2 separate regions of the Homo sapiens genome follow, and region 2 is linked to region 1. Evidence: promoter capture Hi-C in human tissues and cell types (Jung and others, 2019). All regions are on one chromosome and are shown on one strand. The core of a region is centred on a gene start or on the middle of the fragment in contact, and the rest is flanking DNA. Distances in the headings are between cores, read along the strand shown. Region 1 holds the start of USP50 (ubiquitin specific peptidase 50). Region 2 has its middle 13 kb from the start of SPPL2A.

Region 1 (7,921 bases), core at 3,836-6,335:
AATGGGAAGTGCCTCTCTGTTGGAGATGGGGTTGTAAATATGTAAAAGGGAGGAAACTAGAATAAATCCTGAAATGTAGGTTTGGAATTGGAATTACTGGCATGAATTCATGGTTCCCAAAATATCAAGATGTATTCAGTATGGTAGTAATACTGAAAAAAAAATGTAGAGAGATATACCTATGGATGTGGATGTATGTATGCATAGAGGACCTGGAAGCAGCAACGCTGTAATAACATGAGTATACCCAGCTCCCAGATCTTGGTTTCTAAATACCATTCTTCACTAAAAGGAACCAGGGCTCGGAGAAACACCTGACTTCAGGATTGGGGCAGGAATGGTACTCTAGAAGATCTTGCTGTGCCAAACAAAGGAAGTGCTCAAAGAACAATAAGGACATGTCAAATGGATACAGAAGACATCTTGAAGGGCTTCCTGCAGGCTAATCTTGAGACCATTTGAACATCTAAAATAAATCATGGCCAGGTGCGGTGGCTCACACCTATAATCCCAGCACTTTAAGAGGGCAAAGTGGTTGAGCTTGAGACCAAGAGCTCAAGACCAGCCGGGGCAACATAGTGAAACCCCCGTCTCTACAACAAAATTTAAAAATAGCTGGGCTTCGTGGCATGTGATGTAGTCCCAACTACTCAGGAGGCTGAGGCAGAAGGATTGCTTGATCCCAAGAAATTGAGGCTGCAGTGAGCCGAGATCATGCCATTGCACTCCAGTGAGCAACAAAGCGAGACCCTGTCTCAAAAAACACACACACAAAAAAACATGAAAATATCAGATGCGCACCCATAAAGGATGAGTTCATGTCCTTTGCAGGGACATGGATGAAGCTGGAAACCATCATTCTCAGCAAACAGAAGAACAGAAAACCAAATACCACATGTTCTCACTCATAAGCAGGAGTTGAACAATGAGAACACATGGACACAGGGAGGAGAACATCACACACCGGGGCCTGTCAGGGAGTGGGGAGCTAGAGGAAGGATAGCATGGGTGCAGCAAACCACCATGGCACACATATACCTATGTAACCTGCACGTTCTGCACATGTATCCCAGAACTTAAAGTATAATTTAAAAATAAATAAATAAAATATCAGATGTAATCCATTGAACAAAACGGGAATTTGTGAGTCCATGCTGATTAAAATAAAAGAATAAATGGAGACAGCCAGGTGCGGTGGCTCACGCCTGTAATCCCAACACTTTGGGAGGCCAAGGTGGATTGCTTCGAGCTCAGGAGTTCAAGACCAGCGTGGGCAACGTGGCAAAACCCTGTCTCTACAAAAATTACAAAAATTATCCAGGCATTGGTGGCGTGCACCTGTAGTCCCAGCTACACAGGAGGCTGAAGCTGGAGAATCGCTTAAGCCTGGGAAGTGGAGGTTGCAGGAAGCTGAGATTGTGCCACTGCACTCCAACCTGGGGGACAGTGAGACCCTGTCACAAAAAAAAAAAAAAGAAATGGAGAAACTTCTCTTTATAGTCGAGTACCAACAGATGAATGTAGTCAGAATAATGATATTAGAAAATCACCACTTGGCAATCACCATAGCAAAAATCCAGCCAAGAAACATCAATTACTAAAACTAATGTATGAAAGTTTGATGAGGAACAGACCATTTACACAGTCTCAAAGTCCTCCCTGCAAAATGCTTCCTGATGATTACAAAAGGAAAAACTACATTGGAGAAACCTGGGAGACCCTACCTCATTCAAGTTATCACAGTTAATCACAGTTCACATAACCAGTGCTGGGACAAATCAAAATTGTATAACATTTAATACAATGCAATAAGAATATAGCTTCACTTCTGTGATATTCTTCATAAAAATGCATAATGTGAATCTAATGAGGAAACATCAGAGAACATAGTTCCCCTAATGTTCTTTTATGGCAATTTTTTTTTTCTGATCTGGGATTCAGTCCGGATAGATGTAGCTCCTGAATAGAAATTAAGGGATATTCTTCACAATAATTGGTCAGTAATCTTCAAAAGTCAAGTTCATGAAAATCAAGGAAATACATAGAACCGTTTCAGGTTGAAGGAGCCTAAAAGGGACATGAAAACTAAATGCAATGTGAGATCCCAGCTAAACTATATCTGGTTTTCCTTTTTGAGTTTTGTTTTGTTTTGTTTTGAGACAGTCTTGTTCTATTGCCCAGGCTAGAGGGCAGTGGCATGATCTTGACTCACTGCAATTTCCGCCTCCCAGGTTCAAGGGATTCTCGTGCCTCAGATTCCAGAGTAGCTAGGATTACAGGCCCGTGCCACCATGCCCAGCTATTCTTTTTGTATTTTTAGTAGAGACAGGGTTTCGCCATGTTGGCCAGGCTGGTCTCTAACTCCTGGCCTCAAGTGATCTACCCGCCTCAGCCTCCCAAAACGCTGGGATTGCAAGTGTAAGCCACCACTCCTGGCTTTTGGGGTTCTTTTTGAGACAGGGTCTCTGTCACCCAGGCTGGAGTGCAATGGCACAATCACAGCTCACTGCAAGCATGACGTCCTGGGCTCAAGTGATCCTTCCACCTTGGCTTCCTGAGTAGCTGGAACTACAGTCATACACCACCATGCCCGGCTAATTATTATTATTATTTTTTTTGGTAGACGGAGGGTGGAGAGTGGGGTGGGGGGGAATGGGGGTGGGGGTGGGGGATATTCTCACTGTGTTGCCCAAACTGGTCTTGAATTCCTGGACTCAAGCGATTCTCCTACCTCGGCCTCCCCAAGTGCTGGGATTACAGGCATGAGCCACCACACCCAGCCCCATGTCTGGTTTTAAACTAAGCTTAGTAGTTTGTTATAGAGCACAGAATATTAACACATAGATAATCTAACTCATGAACATAGATACAAAACCCTTGAACAAAAAGATTAACAACTAGAACCCAACAATTCACGAAAATAATAACTACAGCTCAAACAAAATATACCTGAGGAATAGAAGATTAATATGTGACCATCATTGATAATGAACAACAATAACAGAATAAGAAAGAAAATCTCATGATTACCTCAATAAATACAGAGAAATCTGGTCATACTCACTATCCATTCATGATTACAACTCTTCAATACTATGTCTGCAAACATCATACTTAATGGTGAATTATCCAAAGCTTTCTCTCTGAGTTAAGCAATTAGCTATCTCCACTTCTATTCACTATTTTACTATGTTCACAATTTTTCACTATTTTCACTATTTTACTGGCAGTCCTCACTAGTAAAGAAGAAGTAAGACTCAGAAAAAAATTAAACTGATTTTGTTGCAGACAACTTGAATGTGTTTATAAAAAATCCAAAGAACCTATGTAAAAATTAGACTTAAGTAAGTCAAGTTAGGCCATACTCAGGGGCTCACATCTGTAATCCTAGCACTTTGGGAGGGTGAGGTGGGAGGATTGCTTGAGCCCATGAGTTCGAGACCAGCCTGGGCAACATAGCGAGACCCTGTCTCTATTTAAATAAAAATTAAAAAATTAAAGAGTAAGTCAGGTTAGAAAGGTTCCTGGATAGACAACCAACATATGACAAATAATTGTATTTTTACCTACCAGCATCAAACACAAAATGAAACTTTTAAAAGACCCTATTGATTAGGAGAAAATGAAGGACTTGGGAGAGCCTCACTGACAAATAGAGCAAGTTTACAGGATTTAAGTCCTGCAGAACCACCACTGAGGTGACTTGGAGAGATACCTCTGTAAATACATCGCAAATATCAAATACCTGCAAGAGAGGACAGCTCTACTTGCCAGGATTCCTTATCCAGGTGTCAAAGAATGAATATTCTAAATATCTTCGTGTAGCCTGAGCATATATGTGGGTTTTTTTTAACCATTTAGACATAAGTTGGGGTGCATACTATGGATTCCTCAACACCTTGCTTTTTTTGACTTACCAGTCATATATCTGGAGAGAAATCCATTTTAGCAAAAAATATGTGTAATATATTCTTTCTTTTTAATTTTTTTTTTCTTTTTTTGAGACCGAGTCTTCGCTTTGTTGCCCAGGCTGGAGTGCAGTGGCGCGATCTCGGCTCACGGCAAGCTCCGCCTCCCGGGTTCACGTCATTCTTCTGCCTCAGTTTCCCGAGTAGCTGGGACTACAGGCGCCCGCCACCACGCCCAGTTAATTGTATTTTTAGTAGAGATGGGGTTTCACCGTGTTAGCCAGGATGGTCTCTGTCTCCTGACCTCGTGATCCTCCCGCCTCAGCCTCCCAAAGTGCTGGGATTACAGGCGTGAGCCGATGCGCCCGGCCTCTTTTTAATTTTTTAAACTTGCAGAAGAGTTGCAAGAATAGTGCTCTTTAGTGGGCCTTCACTCGGAATCACCAACTGCTGGCGTGTGGGTGCACTGGCTTTATAGTATGTGCTTTATCAGTCCCCTTCCTTCCTGTCCTCCTGTCCCTGTGTGCTTCCTGAACCGTTTGAAAATAGGTTGCATATATCATGCCCCTGTGCCCCGAAAAACTTCAGTGTGTATTTTCTAAGAACAAGGGCATCCCCTTGCATAAACACAGTACAATCTTATCAAATTCAGAAGATTCAACATTAATAGAAAAAACTATCTGCATATTATCCATATTCAAATTTCATCAATCGTTCCCATAATGTTCTTTTATGGCAATTTTTTTTTTCTGATCCGGTATTCAGTCCGGATAGATCTAGCTCCTGAATAGAAGTGGAAATCCTCGCTCCCCGGGGTGAGGAAATTCCCTCAGGGCTCCTAGGTGTGGTGTAGTCGCTGGGAAGGGGGAATGAGTGCCCAGAGCAGGCAGGGTTGCCGTAGTGTCCACTAACTCAGTGGCGGTAAATTTTTGTGCACATGTTAAGTGTGTGTGTGTGTATGTGTAATATATATATACACAAGAGAAACTGAGTGATGGAAGAAGGAAGAGAGGTTATATGTGTAGTTCATTCTCTGGAGCCTAATCTTTCTAAAACATTTCAGACAACCCAGTAACAGTGTCTCATGGCAACATGATAGAATCTTGAAGGTGAATGGAAAGGATTATGATGTACGGAAAATCCAAGTTGGAGTGGTGCCTGATACAGGTGAAAATCAGTTCGCAGCTACTGGAAGAGAGAGGAGCATATCAATTGTTTAAAACAAAAAGCCAGCGTTAACAGGCTCAGAGAAATGAAGTTGAAAGGAATAGATGTAGCTCCTGAATAGAAGCAAAAGTCCAACGTGGTTCCATTAAAATGACTTCTCAGCCGTCTCTCCCTGCAGATGACTTCGATATCTACCACGTCCTGTGAGCCTTGATCTACTACAGCTTTCTAGATTAGCCCAGTGGTGGGAAAGTCAAGCTCAGAGGAGTCAGGGGACACACACTGCATTCAGGAGGGTTCTCCCAGGTGTGACCCATGGAAGGTCCCCGGAAAGGAAGGAAGATTGTACCTAATATCTTGGCAATAAATACATGTCCTTCCTAAAGGGTGACAGTCTAGGACCTCCTGTGGTATCAGTGAGTAAAAGTGAAAATGACCATGCTTATAACAGTGAACACTTTTCAAACTGGCATAACTGTACTTAAAAGTATGTATGAGGTAAGGTCACTGTCTCATGGAGCCCCAACTTTAGATACAATATATGGAAAGAAAAATCCGAGAGGACATAGATACCAGGCTGCCTGGCACAATACAAAAAATTGTAAGAGGAAGCTCTGTGCAGGGAGAGGAGGTCCCGTTTGGAACCCTCAGTGTTCTCTCTGTGCAGGCAGGTCTGGGCAATTCACATGAACACTCTAATCCTGTAGCTTACTGGGAAGGACATCCTAGATCAATCACTTAAAAAAATTTTTCAGTTGTCATTTAGACGAACCTGTGTCAAGTAGCTTGCATGATACCTGCATAATCCTCACAACCATCCTATCAGGCAGATGATATTATTCCTATTTTATAGATGAGAAACGGACATAGAATCCCAGATCCTATAATTAATAAACGGCATAGTTGGGATTTAAACTAAGATCTATATTTTTACAAAGTCTGTGCTCTTTCTCCTCTCCGTGTATATGTGTGTGTGTGTGTTTATATGTATATAGCTATATACATACACATATACACATATGTGTGCTCTTAAGATATATATATTCATGCTCTTAATGTGCATATATTATGCCTTCAATATATATGCCATACATACATATATATACAAATATATACATATATATCACATATATAGAGACAATCTTAATATATATAGACAATCTTAATATATGTAAATCCAAATATCTTAATGGATAGGTATGTTGGGAGAGAGGGAGGGAGGTAAACAGATAGGTGGATATTCCTTTTTTTACATACCACCACACACCCCATGAGTAAATGACTACATCATTTAAACCTGACATCTCATCTGTAAAATGGGATGTAAAAATAATCGTTCCTGCCTTACACAATTGTTGAAAGATTTAATGGGAAAATGCATGTTAAGTACTTAAATAGTGCCAGGCTCACTACCTGATAGCTATTGTTTTATTAACTATTAATAATAATAATAATAATTTAATTACTTGCCCAGCAAGTTGTCAGTTGTCTTGCTTTAGTTTTAGAAGGAAATTTTTATCTGTCTTATTTGGCTTCAGGTACTTGTTCACAGTTCTGGTCTAAGTTATGTAATTTTGTTTTTAATTTAATTTATTTATGTAATAGAGACAAGATCTCACTATGTTACCCTGGCTGGTCTCAAACTCCTGGCCTCAAGCAATCCTCCCACCTCGGCCTCCCAAAGGGCTGGGATTACAGGTGTGAGCCACTATGCTCTGCCATAATACAATTTTAGACTCCAAGTTCCAATACTTCCTGTCCTTGGTAGGGAATGTGTTTGGAGGAAGTCTTATTAAGAACTCTTCTTTATTTCATAATATTAAGAGAAGCTTATTGTCATTTGTACATATTTTGTTCTCTCAAAACCCTTTCTTCCCATGTGGCACCAACACAGTGCAGAGTGCACAGATTACTATGATACCCTTCCAGTTAAGGAGGCTGATGGGAACCAGCCCCATTTTCAGGGTGTCACTGGCTTGTGGAACTTGGGCAACACATGCTGCGTGAATGCCATCTCACAGTGTCTCTGCAGCATCTTGCCGCTGGTGGAATACTTTCTCACCGGGAAGTATATCACCGCTCTGCAAAAGTAAGACCATTTGCATTCCCTGCAGCCCAGCCCCCACCCCCACTTCCCCACAGATGAGGTTAGAGAAGGAACTCTGGAATCCCTATTAAGAGATAAACAAACAAGTCAGTAGAGGTTGTAGCTTCCCAGATAACACGCTAGAGTAAGTAAAAGTGGGAAGGGCAACCAAGAAATGAATGCAGCTCCTTTTTTTTTTATTTTTTATTTTTTTTTATTGTTGTTGTTGAGCCAGGGTCTCGTTCTGTTGCCCAGGCTGGAGTGCAGTGGTGCGATCTTGGCTCCCTGCAACCTCTGTTCCTCGGGTTCAAGTGACCCTCCTGCCTCAGCCTCCTGAGTAGCTGGGATTACAGGCACGCGCCACCATGCCTGGCTAATTTTTTTTGTATTTTTGTAATTTTTTGTATTTTTAGTAGAGACGGGGTTTCACCATGTTGGCCAGGCTGGTCTTGAGCTCCTGGCCTCAAGTGATCCACCCCTCCCAACCTACCACCTCGGCCCCCCAAAGTGCTGGCATTACAGGTGTGAGCCACTGAGCCTGGCATCCTTTTTTTTCTTTTAGACAGTCTTGTTCTGTCACCCAAGCTGGGGTGAAGTAGTGGTATGATCACAGCTCACTGCAGCCTCGACCTTCTGGGGGCTCAAGCTATCCTCCTGCATTGGCCTCCCAAAGTGCTGGGGTTACAGGCATGAGACACCACGTTCTTCCATTTTGAGACTAATTTCCTAGGCTTGGGTGATTAGGTGCCTTCTTTTCATT
Region 2 (7,921 bases), core at 2,725-5,224, 230 kb before region 1:
CCAGGAAGTAATTTTGAAAATATTCTGTCTTGTACCTATTAGTCTAATTAGGCTTTGGGCAGAGAAAGAGCTATAAAATAAGGTGACTGTTTAATTTATTATCCAGACATTTTGAGAGTGAAAGGGAGCACTGTTAATAAATACGCAAGGGTAATAGGTATAAACCAGGACTGTCCCAGGCAAAATGGAGGTACATTCCCCTAACTGTGAATGTGGTACTAGTTCAGGAGCACTAGAGATGCTTAGCTGATGTCTGAAATTCCACAGGCTTTATTCCTTTTTTTTTTTTTTTGAGATGGAATTTCGCTCTTGGAGTGCAGGTGGCGCGATCTCAGCTCAACTGCAACCTCCGCCTCCTGGGTTCAAGCGATTCTCCTGCCTTAGCCTCCCGAGTAGCTGGGATTACAGGTGCCTGCCATCGCGCCCAGTGAATTTTTGTATTTTTTTAATAGAAACAGGGTTTCACCATGTTGGCCAGGCTGATCTCCAACTCCTGACCTCAGGTGATCCACCCGCCTTGGCCTCCCAAAGTTCTGGGATTACAGGCATGAGCCACCGCACCCAACCAGCTTTATTCCTTTGACTTAAGTCAACAAGGCAGTTGGCTCAGTTTCCTGGAAGAAGTAACCACTAAACCTATATATATATATATATATATATATATAATTTGAGACAGGGTCTTGCTGTGTCGCCCAGGCTGGAGTGCATTGGCACGATCACAACTCACTGTACTTTTCATCGCCTGAGCTCAAGCCATCCTCCCGCTTCAGCCTGCCTAGTAGCTGGGAATACATGCATGAGCCACCACAGCAGGCTACTTTCTTTCTTTCTCTTTTTTTTTTTAGAGACAAGGTCTCACTGTGTTATCCAGGTTGGTCTTGACCTCCTGAGTTCAGGTGATCCTTCTGCTTCAGCCTCCTAAACTGCTGAGATTACAGGCATGAGCTACCCTTCTTCCTAGCCAATCATTTATATTTTAACATGAACAAACTTTTCAGAGTCTTCTCAGAGGGCAAGTTGGGAGCGACTCTGCTGCCAGTCTGGAGATCTCTGAGCTATTTTTGGCTGAGGGAGGAGGAAAAAGATAAGACCGACCCCAACTCAGAGAAGTATCCGCATGCAACCACAGGTGTCAGCCAGGCCTCCTTAGCTCAAAGGATCTGTGCTTACCTATGCCCATGAAACACATGTTCCCCCAAAGATCCCATCTCATATCAGAATATAGAGAGTGAGCTCCCAGCTGCTCATGGATCATTCTGTTCTACATAAGCCAGTTTAGAAGCTCACAGGATAACTGCCTTTTTAATGAAGTTGAGTGAGTGCTTTTCCTTCATTTCACCAACTAGAGAAAAGTCCCTGGCCAGAGTTTTAACAGTCCCATACCACACCCAGAGTGGGAGCACTGAGGAAAGGATGGGGTGAATAACCCTGAATTCATGCTAAAAAGCATCCTTTCTCACAAAAAAGATTATGGGATTTTTTTTTTTGCACTTCTTAACTCTGAGCAATTTATATCTCAGAGCAATTTACATCTCTGATTTAATCACATCTTAACCTGAATGCATGCATTAAAAACAGCCACAAAATAAATAAATGAATAAATTAAAGTCTCTAGGCTATAATTTGGGCCATCTTTGACCAGTAATTTGCATCAATGCCATCCTTGCTTTTCACAACAGGTTATACAAGCAAGGTAATAGCCAGTGATCACTCTCTTTTTATGAATATATAAATGAATACTAGAGGATGTCTCTGGAGAAGATTACAGGTTTTATATAAAGCTACTTTTAGATATAAGGTCCTGAAATAGAAACTTACAATCTGAGCAGAAATCAAATGGCTCCAGGATTCCTGTACCAAGGTGTTCTTGCCAAAAGATCTGCTAGGGCAAATGCAACATCTGTAAAAAGGCTAAAAACCACTATAGTCCACCCCAGCAAGGTTTGCTCTCTAGAGTAGCCACGTCCAATAGGACATTCTGCAGTGATGGACATGTTCAGTATCTGTGCTGCCTGACATGGTAGCTATTAGCCAAGTGTGGCTATTGAATACTTGAAATGTGACTAGTACAACAGAGGAACTGAATTCTCATTTTGTTTTGATAAGTTTAAATTCAAATACCCACATGTGAGTACTGGCTACCTTATTGAACAACACAAGTCTAGAGGCTAATCCAGCCTAAAGGAAGCAATCCAGGCCAGGCGCAGTGGCTCACGCCTGTAATCCCAGCACTTTGGGAGGCCAAGGAAGGCGGATCACCTGAGGTCAGGAGTTCAAGACCAGCCTGACCAATATGGTAAAACCCTGTCTCTCCAAAAAAATACAAAATTAGCTGGGTGTGGTGGCGGACACCTGTAATCCCAGCTATTTGGCAGGCTGAGGCAGAAGAATCGCTTGAATCCGGGAGGTGGAGGTTGCAGTGAGCCGAGATTGCACCATTGCACTCCGGTCTGAGAAACAAGAATGAAACACCGTCTCCAAAAAAAAAAAAAAAAAAAAAAAAAAAAAGGGAAAGAAAAGAAAGCAATCCAAAAGTCACCTTTGAATTCAGCAAGGAATCTGACAACATTTGATAACTTAATATTTTAGCTGTATAAAAAACTATACTTTCCCCTATTAAATTATCTCAATTCGGCCAGGTGCAGTGGCTCACGTTTGTAATCCCAGCACTTTGGGAGGCTAAGGCAGGCGGATCACAAGGTCAGGAGTTCGAGACCAGCCTGGCCAACATAGTGAAACCCTGTCTCTACTAAAAATACAAAAATTAGCTGGGTGTGGTGGCCCGTGCCTGTAGTTCCAGCTACTCAGGAGGCTGAGGTGGGATAATTGCTTGAACCAGGAAGTGGAGGTTGCGGTGAGCCGAGACTATGCCATTGCATTCCAGCCTGGGTGACAAAGTGAGACTCCGTCTCAAAAAAAAAAAATCTCAAGTCTTCACAATGGCCTTCTAGGCCTTTCATAATCTGGTCTTCCACCCCTCACTACCTTCACTCATTACCTCTAGGATTTCAGCTCCTGCGCTATCTACCCTTACTCATGTAGCCCCAGTTCTAGTGGCCCCCTTGCATCATTCTTGCCTCAGGGTCTCTGCATTTGCTGTTTTCTCTGCCTAAACTACTCTTCTCTTACCTATACTCACGGCTTGTTCCTCCCCTTCCTTTCAATTAATGTTCAAATATTATGTTCTCAGTGAGGCCTTTCCTGACCACCCTATTTAGAATTGTAATGCTTACCACCACCCAGACTCCTTACTTCTTTTTAAAAAAGAAGTTACTCAACTTAACTTTTCTCTTTAGTGTTTTTCCTCTCCTAATATACTTTTTCTTTCTTTTCTTGTTTTTGAGACAGACTGGAGTGCAGTGGCACAACCATGGCCCAAGGCAGCCTCAACCTCCCGGGCTCAAGCGATCTTCCCATTTCATCCTCCTGAGTAGCTGGGACTACAGGCATGTGTCACCATGCCCAGCTAGTTTTTTTTATTTTCTGTAGAGATGGAGTCTTCCTATGTTGCCCAGGCTGGTCACAAACTCCTGGGCTCAAGCAATCCTCCTACCTCGACTTCCCAAAGTGTTGGGATTACAGGTGTGAGCTACCATGCCCAGCCTTTTCTAATATACTTCTAACATAATTCAGTTACTTATTTTGTCTTTCTCCCCATCTAGAATGTGAGCTCTATGAAGGCAAGGATTTTTGTTAGTTTTATTTACTTCTGTACTCGGTGGTGTGCTCATAAATGTTTAACATCTAGCTCAGGGATGGGGGCAACACCCTGATTTGCCGATTTCTGTGGCGTAAATACTTCCACTACGGCCAGTTTCAAGCTACCAACAAAAAGTTACTGAACATAGAGCTGAACAAAATCTGAGAAGAGACAAAACTAATATGTGTGATTGAAGTCAGAAAACAGTTATTCTTGGGAGCAAAAGCCAGCTAGAAGAGAACAGTAGAGGGACTTCTGAGTAGATAGAAATGCTCAGTTTCTTGAAAGGATGCTGGTCACACAGATGTGTTGAGTTTGTGAAAGCTCATCAAAGTCTACACTTGCAATATGTACACTTTCCTGTCTTTATATTATACTTCAAGAAAAAAGGTAAATTTAAAGAATATATAGGGCCAGACACAGTGGCTCACACCTGTAATCCTAGCACTTTCGGAGGCCGAGGTGGGCGTATGACTTGCGGTCAGGAGTTCAAGACCAGCCTGGCCAACATGGTAAAACCTTTTCTCTACTAAAAATACCAAATTAAACGTGGTGGCCCATACCTGTAATCCCAGCTACTCAGGAGGCTGAGGCAGGAAAATCGCTTGAACCTGGGAGGCAGAGATTGCTGTGAGCCGAGATTGCACCACTGCACTCTAGCCTGGGCAACAGAGCAAGACTCTGTCTCAAAAAAAAAAAAAAAAAAAAAAAAAGAATATATACTGAGTGCTCTTTTGACCAGGCATGGTGGCTCACTCTTGTAATCCTAGCACTTTGGGAGACTGAGGTGGGAGGATTACTGGAGCCTGGGAGATGGACATTGCAATGAGCTGGGATTGCGCTACTGCATTCCAGTTTGGGCAACAGAGTCAGACCATGCCTCAAGAAAATTAATTATATTTTTTTTAAAAGGATATATAGTGCCCATTTATGTTCATAAGTTGTAAAATACTTCTCTCACTCCTCCCAGTTTCCAGAGCTCCACCCTTTTGTTACTGAATTTTAAACTCATGGCCTTCGGTCTTTATCTCGTGACAGCGGGTCACCTCTCTAAATACACTTTCATTTAAACTGATGTTCCCATCTCAGCTGATCCAGGTGACTGCAAATGACCGGCTGTACTTGCTGATGGGGTTGCACACTAATGCCTAGACTAGGCCAGCAATATCACATGGCCCTATCATCGTGATCTCTGGCATGTACACCTGACACAGAATGCCAAGTATAAGTTAATGAAAAACAAGAAAAACCAGGGGAGGTGTCTAATAATGTCAAGACTTCTTAAAGAGAAAATATAATTATATAGTTTGTATTTTCAGCAAAAAACTCATGGGGGTCAGGCTACACATTGTTATGAATGTAACATTCCTGCCAAATTGGATACTTGGTATTAATATTTAAATACTGACTTAAAGTCCAGGCTCCGTGGCTCACGCCTGTAATCCCAGCACTCTGGGAGGCCAAGGTTGGTGAATCACCTGAGGTCAGGAGTTCGAGACCAGCCTGGCTAACATGGCGAAACCCCGTCTCTACTAAAATACAAAAATTATCCAGGCGTGGTGGCAGGTGCTTGTAATCCCAACTACTTGGGAGGCTGAGGCAGGAGAATCACTTGAACCCAGGAGGTGGAGGTTGCAATGAGCCAAGATCACACAACTGCACTCCAGCCTGGGCGACAACAGTGAGACTCCACATTAAAAAAACAAACAAACAAAACAAAATAACACACACACACACACACACACACACACAACTGACAAATACTGATTTAAGATGCTAATTTATATTTATTTATTTTTTCATTTTTGAGATGGAGTCTTGCTCTGTTGCCCAGGCTGGAGTGCAGTGGCAAGATCTCATCTCACTGCAACCTCCACCTCCCGGGTTCAAGCAATTCCCCTGCCTTAGCCTCCTGAGTAGCTGGGACTACAGGTGCGCGCCACTGCACCCAGCTGATTTCTGTATTTTTAGTAGAGACGGGTTTCACCATGTTGGCCAGGCTGGTCTCGAACTCCCAACCTCAGGTGATCCGCCTCCCTCAGCCTCCCAAAGTACTGGGATTACAGGCATGAGCCACCGTGCCTGGCTGGTGTCATGGGGAGGCAGAATTGGTTTATTCCTCATTCCTCCTGCACACAATATTTCTTATTCCTTCTGCACATAATAGCAGTGGCTATTAGTGGAATTGCACTATTAGTCAAAAATCCTGAATCTGTTTTCTGCTGAGCAGGCATATTTCATAGAATCATAGTAAAATAGAGCCAGAAAAGTCATGTGGAAAGTATACTGCTGTGTAACAAATGGCATCTTAGAAGTCTAAAATTATCCTTGTGCATCAAAAAGATCTGACTGCATTTACTTGCTTTGGGTGATAGTTTATTAATCTGGAGGCTCCTATAAATAAACAACTTCAGGCTGGGCACAGTGGCTCACACCTGTAATCCCAACACTTGGAGAGGCCAAGGTGAGCAGATTGCTTGAAACCTGGAGTTTGAGACCAGCCTCGAACATGGTGAAACCCCGTCTCTACAAAGAAATACAAAAATTAGCTGGGCGTGGTGGTGTGCACCTATAGTCTCAGCTACTGGGGAGGGTGAGGCAGGAAGATTGCTTGAGCCAAGGAGGCAGAGGTTGCAGTGAGCTAAGATGGTGTCACTGCACTCCAGCCTGGTGACAGAGCGAGACTCTGTTTCAAATAATAATAATAGTAATAAACAACTTTGGTTTAAAAAGCCCAGAGTAGTCTCAATATGTCAATAGTTAATACTGTAGTGCCCAACCAAGAAAATCATATAAATTAATTTACCTGGAGTCAGAGGAGGATTTGATTAATATGTGAATCAATCCACTATGCCAGAAAACTTTGGATATGGATTGGGTTTTGCTTTTTCCAGCAATATCTAAAGTCAACTACTGTTCCTTGCAGCAACACTGATTTATACAGACAATAGCAGCCTTTGGTATACCTCAACACCAAGAACAATGTAACTCTAGCTTACAATTTGTTATCTCTTTTTTTTTTTTTTTTTAAGAGGGATTCTCACTCTGTCACTCAGGCTGTAGTGCAGTGGCATGATCTCAGCTCACTGTAACCTCCACCTCCTGGGTTCAAACGATTCTCCTGCCTCAGCCTCCTGAGTAGCTGGGCCCACAGGCCCACACCACCGCGCCCGGCCAATTTTTGTATTTTTAGGAGAGATGGGGTTTTGCCATGTTGGCCAAGCTGGTCGCGAACTCCTGACCTCAAGTGATCTGCCCACCTCGGCCTCCCAAAGTGCTGGGATTACAGGCGTGAGCCATTAAGCCTGGCCTATTAGTTATTTCTTTAAAATTTGTATTTAAAAACCATTCATACAAAAGAATATATATGTATATAAATAAAATCTCTAAAGTTATCTTATGTACCAGGCTATTTTTATTCATTTTTAGTGTAGAAATATGTCCTGGAGGGAAAAATAATTCAAGCTTTTATCAGTGAAGAAAACCTTGGACTTTTTTTTGAGATGGAATCTCGCTCTGCCACCCAGACTGGAGTGCAGTGGCGCGATCTCAGCTCACTGCGGTCTCCACCTCCTGGGTTTAAGGGATTCTTCTGCCTAAGCCTCCTGAGTAGCTGGGATTACAGGCATGCGCCACCACGCCCAGCTAATTTTTGTATTTTTAGTAGAGACGGGGTTTCACCATGTTGGTCAGGCTGGTCTCGAACTCCTGACTTCGTGATGCACCCTCCTCGGCCTCCCAAAGTGCTGGGATTACAGTTGTGAGCCAATGCGCCCAGCTGAAACCCTTGGACTTTTTAGGCAAATCGAAACCTAAAGAGTTGATTTTGTTTGAAATTAGATCCAGTTATTCTTCAAAAGACGAGTCTTTTTTATGTTTTATAAGACATTTCAGAGGTAATTTAGTCACACTCGAAAATATTCAAAACCACAACACTGGCTTCTTAATTATTAGCAAAATTTCTTAATTTAATAAACATTTATAGAGCACCCACAACTGGATTTAATTTCTGGCACCATTTCTTGCTGGGAGATTTCATATGCATAAATTTCCTTATCTGCAACATGAGACTAATAATTTGTGTCATAAAACTGCTTTAAATGAAGCTAATTAGAAAAAAATAGTAACTTATAAGACATTATAAAACCTTGCATGGCTTTGCATTCAAGTTCTCTTGCTGAGAGCTTATAAAGATTTCCTGGCTGGGTGCGGTGGCTCACG

What was found. The method cuts DNA at HindIII sites, captures the fragments that hold promoters and counts their contacts. A contact is called where the count stands out against the background at its distance.
Region 2: a fragment that was not itself captured here is called in contact with the fragment with the promoter of USP50 in region 1 in 1 of the 25 tissues and cell types used here (H1 embryonic stem cells).

What each region holds. Positions count from the first base shown.
Region 1 is chr15:50,543,830-50,551,750 of GRCh38, reverse strand. It overlaps USP50 (ubiquitin specific peptidase 50), which reads left to right and starts at 5,085. Exons shown (of 7, transcript NM_203494.5): 1 at 5,085-5,278; 2 at 6,970-7,164. The coding sequence starts at 5,226. RefSeq lists an enhancer at 110-624. The HindIII fragment of the contact is 4,694 bases long and covers 2,971-7,664 here.
Region 2 is chr15:50,775,217-50,783,137 of GRCh38, reverse strand. No RefSeq gene overlaps it. Among named protein-coding and RNA genes, the nearest start is that of SPPL2A, 13 kb to the right of the region's middle. The HindIII fragment of the contact is 8,950 bases long and covers 1-7,921 here.